Linked DNA regions of Homo sapiens: regions 1, 3, 4 and 5 are each linked to region 2. The links are contacts of gene promoters, found by promoter capture Hi-C in blood cells and fetal thymus (Javierre and others, 2016). All regions are on one chromosome and are shown on one strand. Each heading gives the region's core, a stretch centred on a gene start or on the middle of the fragment in contact. The rest is flanking DNA. Distances are from core to core; before and after follow the strand shown.

Region 1 (2,715 bases), core at 189-2,688, 970 kb before region 2:
TTGACTTCAGGGGATTGTGGACCTCTATTAAGCTTTCTGGGAAACTGAATTAGTGTTTAGAAGGTTGCCTGGTAAACATGGAATTAAAATGACAGGGAGTGGGTAGGCGTGAGAGCTTTTTTCATCAGACCTCACTGTGTCTGCAGTAGAAAACATCCCTTTAGTGATTATTTTTGTGGGTCCTACAGCTTCGTTGCCCTTTTTTCCTGAACAGTACTGAATGCATATTGTAAGTTTGCCCTCAATCCTTTATTTTTAGGTTTACCACCTTCTTTCTGTTGAGGTATTATTGTTACTATTACACGTGTTAATGGATTAAACTACTTCTTACTTATTTTTCCTAGGCCTGAAAAATTTCAGATTCTTCTCTTTGTGTGTAAATTTAATTAGCTTAACCCTAGAGGAGGGAGAATGGTATTTGCCTCATTTACAAGTTTGTGTTCTTCTTTACTCCTAAATCAGTGTAACTCAAAGCATTTCTAAAGTAAATTGCACTTTGCTTTCAGAGCTCTAAAACACTAAAATATTTGTGCTTTATTCGAATAGATTTAAAAATTATAGTATGGTTTATTTTCCTTTAAAAGACATTTCATTGTTATAAACACACAAACAAAAACCCAAGGCCAAAACTGGAATATTATTGTACATGTCATAGGTTAAGTAGGAACAGTTTCTGGACTTTGGTGCAATAACTCTTTACTGACGAAGAGGTCTATAGTTTGTTTAAGAACTATCCCACTTAAAAACCAATCCATACACTTTTCATGCAGCTGACTCCCTCCCCCCTTTCCAAAGCTCAGAATGGCAGCAGATGATACAGCAAACACGTTACTGCAAAAACAGCTACAGCAGCTACCTGGGTGAGATGGCTGCCACCTGCAGCCTCAGTGAATCTGGCTTCACACCACATGCCTTGAATGTGGCCCCTCCCAAAAGTAACATGTTTATTGCCTCACACTTCCAATCATGGGCCTCAAGAGTTTGTGATTTATTTATTTTATAAGCTATAGATATATATAACTGATAACTCTGGATTACTGGTGAATAACCAGAATGAACACCACTTTAAAAGAAAAATGCTGTGACTATCATTAAATGCTTTTATAAGACTAAGAGAAAGATGCACAGAGTGAAAAGAACTTTCGTTTTTGAGACGGAGTCTTGCTGTGTCTCCCAGGCTGGAGTGCAGTGGCATGATCTTGGCTCACTGCAACCTCCACCTCCCAGGTTCATGTGATTCTCCTGCCTCAGCCCCCCAAGTAGCTGGTATTACAAGTGCCTGCCAACATGCCTGGCTAATTTTTGTATTTTTAGTAGATATGAGGTTTCAGTATGTTGGCCAGGCTGGTCTTGAACTCCTGACCTCAGATGACCCGTCTGCCTTGGCCTCCCAAAGTGCTGGGGTTACAGGTGTGAGCCACCTCACCCAGCTGAGAAGATGTTCTTACTTTAAAATGTTTGGACATTTTTGCAAGTTTGATACAGTTTCTGGGTGCTCATAACACCCCTGACTGTTTAATGCACATACTTAAGATTTTCAGAACACTTTTAGAGAAACTGACATGTGATCATATTCTAATTTTGTAATTAAATCTAGTAAGGGCAGAGACATTCTCAGAGAGGTGTATTATGATGTTTTCCCTACTCTGGATTTTACATGGAAAGAGATGCTCAGTTTTATTTCTTCTTCATACCCCCTTCCTTTAACCCTCTCTTTCTCCTGTCTGTCATCCTGTTCATCCTACTCCTCTTTTTTTTTTTTCCCCCCAAGGAACTTTAGCTTTCTCCTTTGCACTGTCAAATTTTCCTGAAGTGGCTACATCCTTGTCATATTTCTCATTGAGCTTTACCCCCTTATTATTGTAAGGCTGCTTTTTGTTATCAGTAAGGGTACTCTACATCATACCTAACATTTTGGTCTTCAGTTAAGATGCCAGTGTTTGTGGATTTGTTCTTAGGATACAACTCTAAACAGAACAAGAAGCTAGCTGGCAGTGATAGTTTGTGGACATTAGGATCCTTCTTCCTGCCTCTCTTAGCTGCTCCAAAATGCTTCATTTCCAGATCATCAAATTTAGATTCCTTTCTTAGACGTTGTCTCTGACCTGCAAGAGGACTTCTTAAAAACCTGCAACACTAATGGGGATCTCTGGATTTTTCTTTTTGTACTTCTGGCCTATACAAAGAAGGGAAAGTAGATCTTAGCCCATTGGTTTCTTGGGGTCACCTTTAGTCATTATTGACTGCATTATTTGCTAGTCCCCATATGTGTGTGTGTGTGTGTGTGTCTGTGTGTGTGTGTGTGTGAGATGTATGTGCGTGCGTGTGTGTGTGTGTGTGTGTGTGTGTGTGTGTATATATATATATATTTTTTTTTTTTTTTTTTTTTGGGAGACAGAGTCTCACTCTGTCGCCCAGGCTGGAGTGCAGTGGCTCAATCTCGGCTCACTGCAAGCTCCGCCTCCCAGGTTCACACCATTCTTCTGCCTCAGCCTCCTGAGTAGCTGGGACTACAGGCGCCCGCCACCACGCCTGGCTAATTTTTTGTATTTTTAGTAGAGACGGGGTTTCACCGTGTTAGCCAGGATGGTCTCGATCTCCTGACCTCGTGATCCGCCCGCCTCGGCCTCCCAAAGTGCTGGGATTACAGGTGTGAGCCACCATGCCCGGGCTAGTCCCTGTATATATTTTTAAAGAAGAATTTGGTAGGTTCAT
Region 2 (2,937 bases), core at 135-2,634:
GATCTCAGCTCACCGCAACCTCCGCCTCCTGGGTTCGAGCAATTTTCCTGCCTCAGCCTCCCAAGCAGCTGGGATTACAGGCATGCGTCACCGTGTCTGGCTAATACTTTTTGTATTTTTAGTAGAGATGGGGTATGACCATGTTGGCCAGGCTGGTCTTGAACTCCTGGTCTGAAGTGATTCACCCACCTTGGCCTCCCAAAGTGCTGAGATTACAGGTGTGAGCCACCGTGCCCAGCCAAGCCATGGACTTTTAAATTCAATGTTTCTCGTTCCAGGTATTTGTCTCCTTAGATATTTATTGGCTTGCCTCAATCATCCAACAAATATTCCCTGGGCATCATCTGTGTGTCCAGTGCTGTGTTAACATCATCGACAGCTGGCATTTAGGATGGACATTTGGGGAGTTTGGAGAATTGGGGAGGTTACACTGTTGCCAGGTGGCAAAGTCTCATCTGATAAGATTGAAATCAGCTCCTCTCATGCACACACTGAACCATAGCGCCTCTCCAGAAAAGCTTAGCATTTTCCCAACCCCCATGCCTCTGACCACTATATTACTTGTGTCTGGAGAGTGCTTTCTCTATCCTCTCTGCAGGACTGTGTTCTCACCTCACCTCTTGGTGGGGAGAAGGCCACCCCTGGGAGCTGCTCTGCCCTGGTACCTGGGACCAGGGCCATGCACCATTGCTTTAGAGAACACCTGCTCCGACCCAGGTCCTGCACCAGGGATTTCCCACCAGCTGAATCAGACACAGTTGCTGTCCTCAGGGAGCTTACAGTCACGGGTCAATAGGATACTGCAGCTAGGATAGCAGTCCACACAGGGCCAGGGCGGGGCACTAAGGAGATGACAGTCATTTCTCCTAGAGAGTCATAGATGAAGTCATATGTCAGGTGAGTCTCGACAGATGAAAGGAAGAGTGTCTGCCAGGTGGACAAGAGGCAACAGCTTGAGCTCAGGAGGTGAGTCAGTGGGTGATGCCGAGAGAGGCATTCTCTTGATCAATTCAAGTGAAAAGCCCAAAGCTGTTTGATGGCTGAGAGGATGTGTAGGTCAACTTAAGGAGAAGAGCCTAAAACAGCTCTGACAAGTAAAAAAAAAAAAAAGGCAGAAGACAAGACAGGCCTATTTTTGCATGTTATAAAACACCGAGAAAAAAATATCAGGATGATTGTCATGGTCTTCTTTACATTTTCCTGTATTTTTCAATTTAAAATAATTGTTGGTGTTACCTGCTGCCCACGCACTCCTCCGTCTGCAGGGGGCGCACCGGCCGCCACCGCTCACTCCTTCAGGATGATGGGCGGGGCCTCCTGGGCCGGTGTGGACTGACGAGTGGCTGGCCGCCCTGTCCATCACGACATCCCGCCCCCGCGCTACGTCACATGACGCAGCCCATCATGGCGGCGGGAGCGCGGCTTCCCAGGCCCGCCGCTCCGCAGGGCTGCTGGCGTTGCTGCTGTTGAGAGGCGGCGGCGGCGGCGCAGGCGGGCGGGAAGGATGGTGTTTCTGCGACTGGAGCGGCAGGTGCGGACCGGGAGCCGGACCGAGGTTTGGCAGAAGCAACGTGTGCTCGGGAGCAACCGGCGCGGGTGCCACTGAGGCAGCGGAGGGAGGCAGGATCGACTGACGGGCGAACGGACGGACGGACGGAAGGCGACTCGAGGGCCGGCCCCGGAGCCGCGCCGTGGGCGAGATGCCGGGGCCGCCGGCGTTGCGGCGGAGGCTGCTGCTGCTGCTGCTGGTCCTCCTGATCGCCGGCAGTGCTGGGGCCGCGCCACTTCCGCAAACAGGTGCAGGTGAGCGGGCCCGCGGCGGGGACGGGGCTGCGGGGTCTTCGGCGTGGAGGGGAGGGGGCGGCAGGGCCGGGCCGGCCTCGGCGCCGAGGAATCGGAGGGCCTGCCGGGGGCGGGAAGCCCAGGGAGGCGAGTGATTAGGGAGATTTCTGCCGCAGGGGCGTGGGATTTGGGGGGGCGGGAGCGAGGCGACGTCGTTGGGGCTGGGGAGGGCGGCGGGCGAGGTAGCAGCCACCGACCCCTCCCGGGATAGGCTGCGGTGCCGGCCCTGGACCTGTTGCCTTAAGATCCTCAGCTTATATCGCTTCCTGGCAGTTCAGCTTCCCTTTCCAGATGTCACCTGCCTCTTGTGCTTTTTTTTCGCATCTCATAAGAACCGTTTCTTAGCCCTAATCATACTTAAATGCAAATGACTTGGCGAGCTGTGCGGAGTTTGTTTTCGCTCCTTGCAACTTATTCTGAAGTTGTAAATTGATTTTAGACGCTGTGCTTTTTATTCGGAATGTATCTCCGGGGATGAGAAGGAAACAACTATAAATATTTCTATTTTAGGAAGCCAGTGATTAGAGTAGCAGGCGTTGAATAACTATTGACAAACTGGCTTAAGGGTGATGGAAGTTTCTATTTTAGCTAACGTCAGTGTATGATTTTCTTTTCTCCCCCCCCGCCCATTTTCTCAACATCGTTTTTATTTGGGGTTTATTTTCCTAAATAAAACTTCAACCCAAGAAAACATCCCAAGTTGGGTCATTTTTCTAAAAAGGAAAAAAAAATCTAGGCTAACTTGGCGTTATTGACTGCCGCCATTACCTTTGAAATGGGGAAAGATTGAAATTTCATACATTCATAGAATGTTAGAGTTAGAAGAGACCTTAAAGAAAATTTAGACCAATTTCTTCTTTACGTAGTAGGAGATACTGGGCATGTTGGGTCAAATGACCTACCCAGGGTGACACAGCTTCGTTGTAGGCAGAGCCCCAAAGCCAGGTCTTAGATACCCCTAGTTGTATGATTTTTTTTAAGTCTTGTAACTGTTTTGGAATACTCTCGAGGTCAAGAGTTATTTTGGAATAATGTTAATTGGGTACAGAATGTGGATGTACTGTCTCCAGTAAAGACATATTTTTCAAACAAATC
Region 3 (2,765 bases), core at 71-2,570, 950 kb before region 2:
GGCCTGCACCACTGCGCCTGGCTGTCAGTTGTTTGTTAGTGTGTTTTAAGACTTAATATATTAAGATTAGTTTTAGGTTCTTGGCAAAATTAAGAGGAAAGCACAGAGATTTTCCATATACCTTCTGCCCCAACATATGCATAACCTCTCCCATTATCAGCATCCCCCACTGGAGTAGTACATTTGTTACAATAGATGAACAAACTGTAGGGGTGACGGGAACTTTTACTGCACACTCCGAAGTTTCTGTAGTTGAATCTGTGATAAACTGAAAGCAGACAGATTAATAGGAGAAAGGCATACGGATTTATTATGTGCATATACACGAGAGTCTCACAAAATAAAAGACTCAGAAAGGCCAGATGATTGGAATTTTTATAATATCTGTAGCTGCAGAAAGAAATAGGGGCTTGGGGCTTCTAGGGAGTGGAGGTGAGGACAGACAGGCTTTGGGAGGGTGAGGGGAAGAAATCTAGGGAACAAAGGTTGTCTTGCTACATAGATTAAAATATCTCGGGGAGCAGCCCTCCAAAGAATGGGTAAAGCTGCTCTGGGTGAGGTTGCTAACCTTTAGTCCTTTTTTTTTTTTTGAGTTGGAGTCTCCCTCTGTCCCCCAGGCTGGAGTGCAGTGGCACAATCTCCGCTCACTGCAAGCTCTGCCCCCCGGGTTCCTGCCATTCTCCTGCCTCAGCCTCCCGAGTAGCTGGGACTACAGGCGCTTGCCACCATGCCTGGCTAATTTTTTTGTATTTTTAGTAGAGACGGGGTTTCACAGTGTTCACCAGGATGGTCCCAATCTTCTGACCTCGTGATCTGCCTGCCTCGGCCTCCCAAAGTGCTGGGATTACAGGCATGAGCCACCACGCTCGGCCAACCTTTAGTCTCTTTTTCCTGTGGTACGGTCTTTCCAGATCCATCTTTAGGCAGATTAGGGGTCCTCAGAGAAAACTTCAGCTTGCATCCACTGGTTCCCTGCTGTTCCCCAGTCATGATACCAAAGAGCCTTACTTTGGGGTATCATTTTCTGAGCCCCAATACTACATTGACACATTAAGATCACCCAGAGTTCATCATTTACATGTAGGGTTTACTCTTGTTTTCTTACTTTCTGTGAGTTTAGACAAATGTATAACGACATGTATCCATCTTTATAGTAGTATATAGTATATTTTCACTGCCCTAAAAATTCTCTCTGCCCTGCCGGTTCATCCCCCTCACCAACCTCTGATAACCCACAACTGTAACCCCCAATGGGTTCTACTTGCCTTCTGCCAGATGAAGCCAATTTATCAAGATGGGAATTGCAATAGAGAAACTGTTTCATACACATAGAGCCAACTAAATTGGAGACTGGAGTTTTGGTATTACTCATATCAGCCTCCCTGAAAATTTGGAAGCTAGGGTTTTTGAAAGATAGTTTGGCAGGCATGGACTAGGGAATGGGAAATGCTGATTGGTTAAGTTAGGGATGAAATAATAGGGAGTTGAATCTGTCCTCTTGCATGGAGTCAGTTCCTGGGTGGGAGGTCACAAGACCAGATATCCCAGTTTATGGGTCTGGGTAACACCAGTGGATCCATTAGAATGCAGGGTCTGAAAAATATGTCAAACATCAGTCTTAGGTTTTACAGTAGTAATGTTATCCATAGGAGCAATTGAGGAGGTTAGGAAGTTTATGGCCTCTGACTGCGTGACTTCTGAGCCATTATTTTGTTTATTTATTTATTTATTTATTTATTTTGAGATGGAGTCTCGCTCTTTCGCCCAGGCTGGATTGCAATGGCGCAATCTCAGGTCACTGCAACCCCTGCCTCCCAGGTTCAAGCGATCCTTGTGCCTCAGCCTCCTGAGTAGCTGGGACTACAGATGTGTGCCACCATGCCCAGCAAATTTTTGTAGGCGTGGTGGTTTAGTAGAGACAGGGTTTTGCCATCTTGGCCAGTCTTGAACTCCTGACCTCAAGCAATGGTCTCCCGCCATGCCCGCCATGGCCTCCCAAAGTGCTGGGATTACAGGCATGAACCACTGCATCTGGCCCTGAGCCATTATTTCTTATTTTGTGGCAAATTTGTTAGTTTTACAAAGGTGATCTAGTCTCCAAGCAAGGAGGATGTTTGTTTTGGGGAGGGCCTGTCACTGTCTTTGTTTCAAAATTAAAGTGTAAATTCCTCACAAAGTTAGCTAGACCTACACCTAGGAATGAACAAGGGCAGTTGGGAGGTTAAAGTCACGATGCAGTTGATTAGGTCATATCTCTTTTGCTGTCATAATTTTCTCACTTGTAATTTTTGCAAAGGTGGTTTCTCCACTGATCTGTGTACTCTCACCCTAGTTTTGCCTTTTCTGGCGTGTTACATGTTGGAATCATACAGAATGTAGCCTTTTCAAATTGGCTTCTTGGCTGCTTTTATTTGGTAATATGCGTTTAAGTTTCCTATGTGTCTTTTCATGGCTTGATCATTTCTTTTTAGCTCTGATAAATATTTCATTGTCTGGGTGTACTGCAGTTTGTTCATTTACCTACTGAAGGATATCCTGGTTGCTTCCAAGTTTTGTCAATTATGAATGAAGCTGCAGTAAACATCCGTTTGCAGGGTTTTGAGTGTACATAATTTTTCAACTTCTTTGGATAAATACCAAGGAATGCAATTGCTGGATCATATGGTAAGAGTATGTTTAGTTTTGTTAGAAATTGTAAAGTGTCTTCCAAAGTGGCTGTACCATTTTACATTTCCACCAGCGGTGAATGAGAGTTTCTGTAGCAT
Region 4 (3,050 bases), core at 33-2,532, 930 kb before region 2:
CAGGCACTGGTCTCCATTGATTGCCTCTTCTCTTAACTGTGTTTGTAATAATTTTTAATTTTTTTCCTGGACACTGTAAATGATACATTGTAGAGACATTATTCTAGATTTTTCCTCACCCAAACGGAAACTCGGTGGCCATTAAACAGTAACACCCTCTCCTACCTCCTCCCAGCCCTTAGTATTATCTATTCTTTCTGTCTATGAATTTTCCTATTCTAGATATTTCATGTAAGTGGAATCATACAATATGTCTTTTTATGTTTGGCTTCTTAGCATAATCTTTTTAAGGTTTATCCATGTTGTAGTATGGATCAGAACTTCATTCCCTTTTAAGGGTGATAAATATTCCATTGTATGTGTATACCACATTTTGTTTATCTGCTTGCTGGTGGACATCTAGGTTATTTTCCAAATGTCGTCTATTGTGTATACAAGTATGTGTTTGAGTTCCTGTTCTCAGTTATTTTGGTAATATACCTATGAGTGCATTTGCTGGATCATATGGTAATTCTGTGTTTAACTTTCTGAGGAACTGCCAGTCTTTTCTGCAGTGGCTATACCATTTTATATTCTCATTATCAATGTATGAGGATTCTAGTTTATTCCAACTGTTATTTTTCTGGGGTTTAAAAAATTATTATAGTAGACATCTTAGGGTGAAGTGGCATCTCATTGTGGTTTTGATTTACATTTTTCTAATGGCAAATGATTTTGACCATCTTTTCATGTACTTGGCCATCTGTATATCTTTGGAGAAATGTCTATTCATGTGCTTTACCCATTTTTAAATTGGGCTATTTGTCTTTTAGTTGTGGTTCTTTATATATTCTGGATAATAAACCCTTTTCAGATACGATTTGCAAATTTTTTCTCATTTTGTAGTTTGTCTTTTTACTATTAGGTGTCCTTTGATGCACAGAAGTATTTAATTTTGATACTGTCCAGTTTATTTTTGTTGTTGTTGCTTGGGCTTTTGGTGTCATATCTAAGAACCTATTGCCAAATCAAAGGTCATAAAGATTTACCTATATATTTTCTTCTAGGATTCTCATGATTTTAGCTCTTATATTTAGGTCTTTGATTCACTTTGAGTTAATTTTTGTATATGGTAGAAGATGGGGTGTCTAACTTCACTCTTTTGCATGTGGAAATTCAGTTTTCCCAGCACCAGTTGTTGCCTAGATTATTCTTTCCTCCACTGAATGGATTTGACATCTTTATCAAAAATCAATTGGCTATATATGTAAGGATTTACTTCTGGACTCCTCATTCTATTGGTGTTATATATCTATTCTAATGCCAGTGCCACACTTTTGTTTAATGTGGCTTTCTAGTTAAGTTTTGAAATTGGGAGTTGTGAGTCCTCTGTTTTTGCTATTTAGAGCTCCTTAGTTGTCCATTTTTGTAAATGAATAATTTCTTAAAGCCTGCTTTTTAGATTTTATTTTTTGGAGTTTCATCCGTGTTGATACATAGACTTGTAGCTTATTTGTTGTGACATCTTTATTATCATCTGAGTAAATTTCAGTGTATTTGACTTTTCTATTGAAGTACAATTATTTCCATTTTTTTTTTTTTTTTTGCTTTAACAATCAACATTCTTCTGCATGATACTTGTTCACATGTTTTAAAGTTTCTTTAGGATGGTAGGGTGATTTTTGCCTTGCCAGGAAACCTTTGGCAGTGTTTCGAGACATTTTAGATTATCAAGACGGGGAGAGGGGTGTTACTGCCATCTGGTGGTCAGAGACAAGAGATGCTGCTAAACATCCTGCAATGCAGACTCTCACTGACCCCTCCCCACCCCTACCCCCCCTACACACACAAAATAGTGCCAAGGTTGAAAAACCCTGCCTGCCCTGAAGCATATAGAAGTGGAATTGATAAAACTTGAAATGTTTTCATCTTAATAAGTGGATTTCTGTAAATCATGGAAAAAATATTTTCTCCATAGGTTTGGAATGTTTGGAATTAAAGTTGCTCTGGCAATGCTGCCATTCCAGCAATTACAAGCAATTTATATATCTCAAGCCAGATCAGGTAGCAGCATTATCCAGAGTTAGCCAGTTCATTCACTTTAACTTCATGAACTAAAATACTTTGGCACTTTGTCTGCTTAAAAGATTAATTTTAGAGTGAGTCTGTTTCAAAACAGTGGCACTTGTGCAGATGGGGATAGTTGGAATATTAGGCTGAATGTACTTAATAAGAGCAAAATTAGAACATGAAAAAGTTTTTCTTGACACAGATGGTTGTTAAACATTGAAGACTTAAAGGTTTAAGAAGTTTTTCTCTAGTATATTTTAAATTAAAATTGTAATTGAAGACATAGGAATGAATTTAGACTCACTTGAAGATGTGTTACATGTCACCGTGGAATACTGTGCTGCCATAAATAGGATGAAAGCATGTCCTTTGCAGCAACATAGATGCCATGATCCTAGGCAAATTAACACAGGAACAGAAAAATAAAATTTTAAGTGGGAGCTAAACATTGAGCACACATGGATGTAAACTGGGAACAGCTGACAGCATGGACTACTGGAGGGTGGTATGGGTTGAAAAGCTACATGTTGGGTATTGTGCTTACTCCCTGGGTGACAGGACCTGTACCCAAACTTGAGCATCATGCAGTTATTCCCATCTAACAAACCTGCACATGTACCCCTTGTATCTAGGGGATATATGTGCAGGTTTAAAATAAAAGTTGGGGGAAAAAAGACCCATGGTTCCTGTTTGAGAATCCGTTGAAAGCTATGGCCCCAGAAATGATGTCCGTACTTGTGTAAATACAATTTTGCATATGGTTTGAGGTGGTTTATGCATGCTTCTGAAGCCCATCCAGGGACTCACCACTCTTTACTTATATCCAGGTTAAAAATTTTGCTAAAAGTTGGTTAAAACACTTAAAGTGCTAAAAATAGATATACATGAAATGATCAATGAATTGTATCTTCACAACTATATTTATATCTCCTTAACCAAATGCTTCTGCATTTACTGATGAGGAAAAATAGGTGACTCAGAATTAGAATTCAAGTCCTCTA
Region 5 (2,876 bases), core at 291-2,790, 1.0 Mb before region 2:
GGAAAGAAAAGTAACTATGTGTGGGAAAACAGGAATTAGGGAGGGGTAAGGAAGAGGAATTGGCCAACAGGAAGCAGGTGGTCAGTTAGGCAATAATAATGGCTAAGGGATCTGGCATCTCATTGTCCAAATGCAGTGATTTAGTAAGTTTCAGTTCCTTGATACTATGTGGAAGGCCTGATGTTTGGTTTCCTGAGAAAGTAACTCAGATAAGAAAAATGTAACTTTCTTAAGTCTTAGGAATCTCCCAGACATTTTTTTCTTGCCATTATCCGTTAAACAATATAGGGAATAACTAAAAAAGTCTTGGGAGGGTCTATTTCTATGTTTATTCAAAAGAAACCATAAACATCAGTTTTATGGGACAATGGACCAGTTTCATAATCAACACCCATTCAACGTAGGATGTCACTTAACTTCTCTGGCCCATTTTACCACCTGTAAAATTATACGTTAATAAATATATAAAGATATGTAATTATATAATACTATATATTATACATATATAATTCTTTCTAGATCCAAACAAATATTCCTATTTTTTAAAGGACTATTTTCTATTCTGCCTACAATAGGCTATTCATTATTCTAATCAGTTTGGTTTCTTCACTGTTCTAACAACACAAGCTCAGTGTTGCTTTTCATGTTGTTTTTCTCTTTTGAAAAACCTCAGGTCTTTTCTTAACCTGTCTATATGATATCATTATTCAAGGCACAGCTTAGATTCCACTCATCTATAATGTCTTCCTAGATGAGTGCCTGAGTATATGATCACACAATTTGAAATATAATCCATTTTGTTTTGTGTTGTTCCCAGCCCTTAAGTATCTTTTTAATATTTTCTAAATATTCTGTTTTTATGTTCCTTTCTTTGTTCTAAGATTTATGTATAAGGATGCTTTAGAATTTTTGAGTGGTTGTACTTTCATGTTGTTTTAATTTTTGTGGCTACATAGTAAGTATTATGATTTTCTAATTTTGTGCATTGTGGTCAGAGAATAAGATCTATAAAATTCCTGGTTTTAAAAAATGCGTTTAAATTTTTCTTTGCAATATCATCTAATTTTTGATCAGCTTTTGTCAAGATTTTTATGGAAACTTTAAAGTAATATGAATTCTTTGTTTTCAACAGTTTTTAAGCCAGTAATGTAAAATATCTTTTTACATGTAAAAGAGATATAACTTATTGTTCAAAACTGGGAACTACATTCATAATCTTACCAGTAAGTATTTTAGCATGTTTGCTTCTAGAGTTTCTATTTTTAAAAAATGACTAAAATCATATATATTATATATATTTGTATCCTGCTCTTGATTATTAACAATAATTTGATGTGTTTTGTCATTAAAATATCATACTTAACATCATTTTTAAAAGCATATTTAATATTCCATTATATGGCTATATCATAATTTAATTAATTCCTTGGTGTTGGACATTTACATTTCATTTTTTTTTTACAACTGAAAATAATATATCATTCTTCAAATGCTAAAATAATAGACTGGAAACACACCCCAACCTCCCATTCCTACTAATCTTTAGAAATGAGATAACGTATATTTTAAAAAGCTGTAACTGGATTGGAAAAGATGGGGAATTTAATATTAATAATTTAAAGTAATATGAATTCTGTTTTAAAGTTTTTAAACAAGTTATGTAAAATATCTGTTTATATGTAAAAGAGATAATGTGTTGTTCAAAATTGGGAACTACATTCATAATCTTACCAGAAATAACAGTACTGTAAGTATTGAAACTTCAGAAACTGTGAAGATTCCCTGGGTGATGGAGAGTAGCTCTCATTGAAAAAGAAAGCTCAGCCCAAAAGGTAAGTACATGAGTACTGTTAGAAGCAGGTAAGAGTGATTCCCAGAATGTACCACACCTGGAAGAGATAAACACTATGAGCAGGGAGGGTCTTGGCAGCAAACAGGGTGATTAGTCAGGGTACCACAGTAGGATCAGCCAGGTGGCTGCCTCCAGGTGAAGGCAATGGGTATGGGAGATTGGGTCAGAGAGATAAGAATGTGCCCTTAAGTGGATAACAAGGGCACACAAGAGGGTAGGAATTTCCACAAGTGTAAGACTAAGATACCCACTAAGATACTCAGACTGGCAAGATATCCTAGTGGCACATTGTCTCTACTCCCTTACTCTTACTGAAAATTGATAGACATACAATCCTTGGTAGCCTGTCTTGTCTTTCCTTTGAGAGAAGAGACACACTAACTGGGCATCTGAAATACAAAAGTAAGTACCTAGTCAGAATTGTTCGTATTTGTGGAAAGCCAACACCCGGAAATACAATGAACTCAACAAATATAAGTACTTATACCTCAGGAAACAGTTAACAGAGCAAGCAGAACAGGATGAGAACAGAGGATAGTGTATCACTAAGAATAGGGAAACTAAATTTGAACAATAATCTGAACCTACAATTGGAATAGACATCAATATAGGACATTGCAGAGGACAGGCAGGGAGGGAAATAAAATCATGCTAATGTTCCTGTCTTATTTGGAGGAGCATATAGGAACTGATTAACCTTAGATATTGTTTGAACAATATGATATTATGGATACATGTTGAAAATGCAAGGGTGATGACTAGAACAACAGAAATAGAATTTAAAAGGCCGGGCGTGGTGGCTCACACCTGTAATCCCAGCACCCTGGGAGGCTGAGGCGGGTGGATCACAAGGTCAGGAGATTGAGACCATCCTGGCTAACACGCTGAAACCCCATCTCTACTAAAAATACAAAAAAATTAGCCGGGGGTGGTGGCAGGCACCTGTAGTCCCAGCTACTCGGGAGGCTGAGGTAGGAGAATGGCATGAACCCGGAAGGCGGAGCTTGCAGTGAGCTGAGGTCGC

The links. The method cuts DNA at HindIII sites, captures the fragments that hold promoters and counts their contacts. A CHiCAGO score of 5 or more calls a contact.
Region 1: a fragment that was not itself captured here is called in contact with the fragment with the promoter of LMTK2 in region 2 in 1 of 17 cell types (M2 macrophages); the score reaches 5.2 in M2 macrophages.
Region 3: a contact is called between a fragment that was not itself captured here and the fragment with the promoter of LMTK2 in region 2, in 1 of 17 cell types (endothelial precursors). The highest score is 5.7, in endothelial precursors.
Region 4: a contact is called between a fragment that was not itself captured here and the fragment with the promoter of LMTK2 in region 2, in 1 of 17 cell types (monocytes). The highest score is 5.0, in monocytes.
Region 5: a contact is called between a fragment that was not itself captured here and the fragment with the promoter of LMTK2 in region 2, in 1 of 17 cell types (total B cells). The highest score is 5.2, in total B cells.

Annotation. Positions count from the first base shown.
Region 1 is chr7:97,133,315-97,136,029 of GRCh38, forward strand. All of the region lies in intron 1 of SDHAF3 (succinate dehydrogenase complex assembly factor 3), which reads left to right. It also overlaps the pseudogene HMGB3P21. Among named protein-coding and RNA genes, the nearest start is that of SDHAF3, 17 kb to the left of the region's middle. RefSeq lists a silencer at 1,041-1,192. The HindIII fragment of the contact is 2,816 bases long and covers 31-2,715 here.
Region 2 is chr7:98,105,478-98,108,414 of GRCh38, forward strand. LMTK2 (lemur tyrosine kinase 2) reads left to right here and starts at 1,385. Exons shown (of 14, transcript NM_014916.4): 1 at 1,385-1,803. The coding sequence starts at 1,701. The HindIII fragment of the contact is 4,003 bases long and covers 517-2,937 here.
Region 3 is chr7:97,150,927-97,153,691 of GRCh38, forward strand. All of the region lies in intron 1 of SDHAF3 (succinate dehydrogenase complex assembly factor 3), which reads left to right. The region is part of intron 2 of LOC107984034 (a long non-coding RNA gene); the gene reads left to right. Among named protein-coding and RNA genes, the nearest start is that of SDHAF3, 35 kb to the left of the region's middle. The HindIII fragment of the contact is 5,764 bases long and covers 1-2,765 here.
Region 4 is chr7:97,177,907-97,180,956 of GRCh38, forward strand. All of the region lies in intron 1 of SDHAF3 (succinate dehydrogenase complex assembly factor 3), which reads left to right. It overlaps LOC124901704 (a long non-coding RNA gene), which reads right to left. Exons shown (of 3, transcript XR_007060445.1): 2 at 2,354-2,443. Among named protein-coding and RNA genes, the nearest start is that of SDHAF3, 62 kb to the left of the region's middle. The HindIII fragment of the contact is 4,077 bases long and covers 1-3,050 here.
Region 5 is chr7:97,107,481-97,110,356 of GRCh38, forward strand. No RefSeq gene overlaps it. Among named protein-coding and RNA genes, the nearest start is that of SDHAF3, 8.8 kb to the right of the region's middle. The HindIII fragment of the contact is 9,433 bases long and covers 1-2,876 here.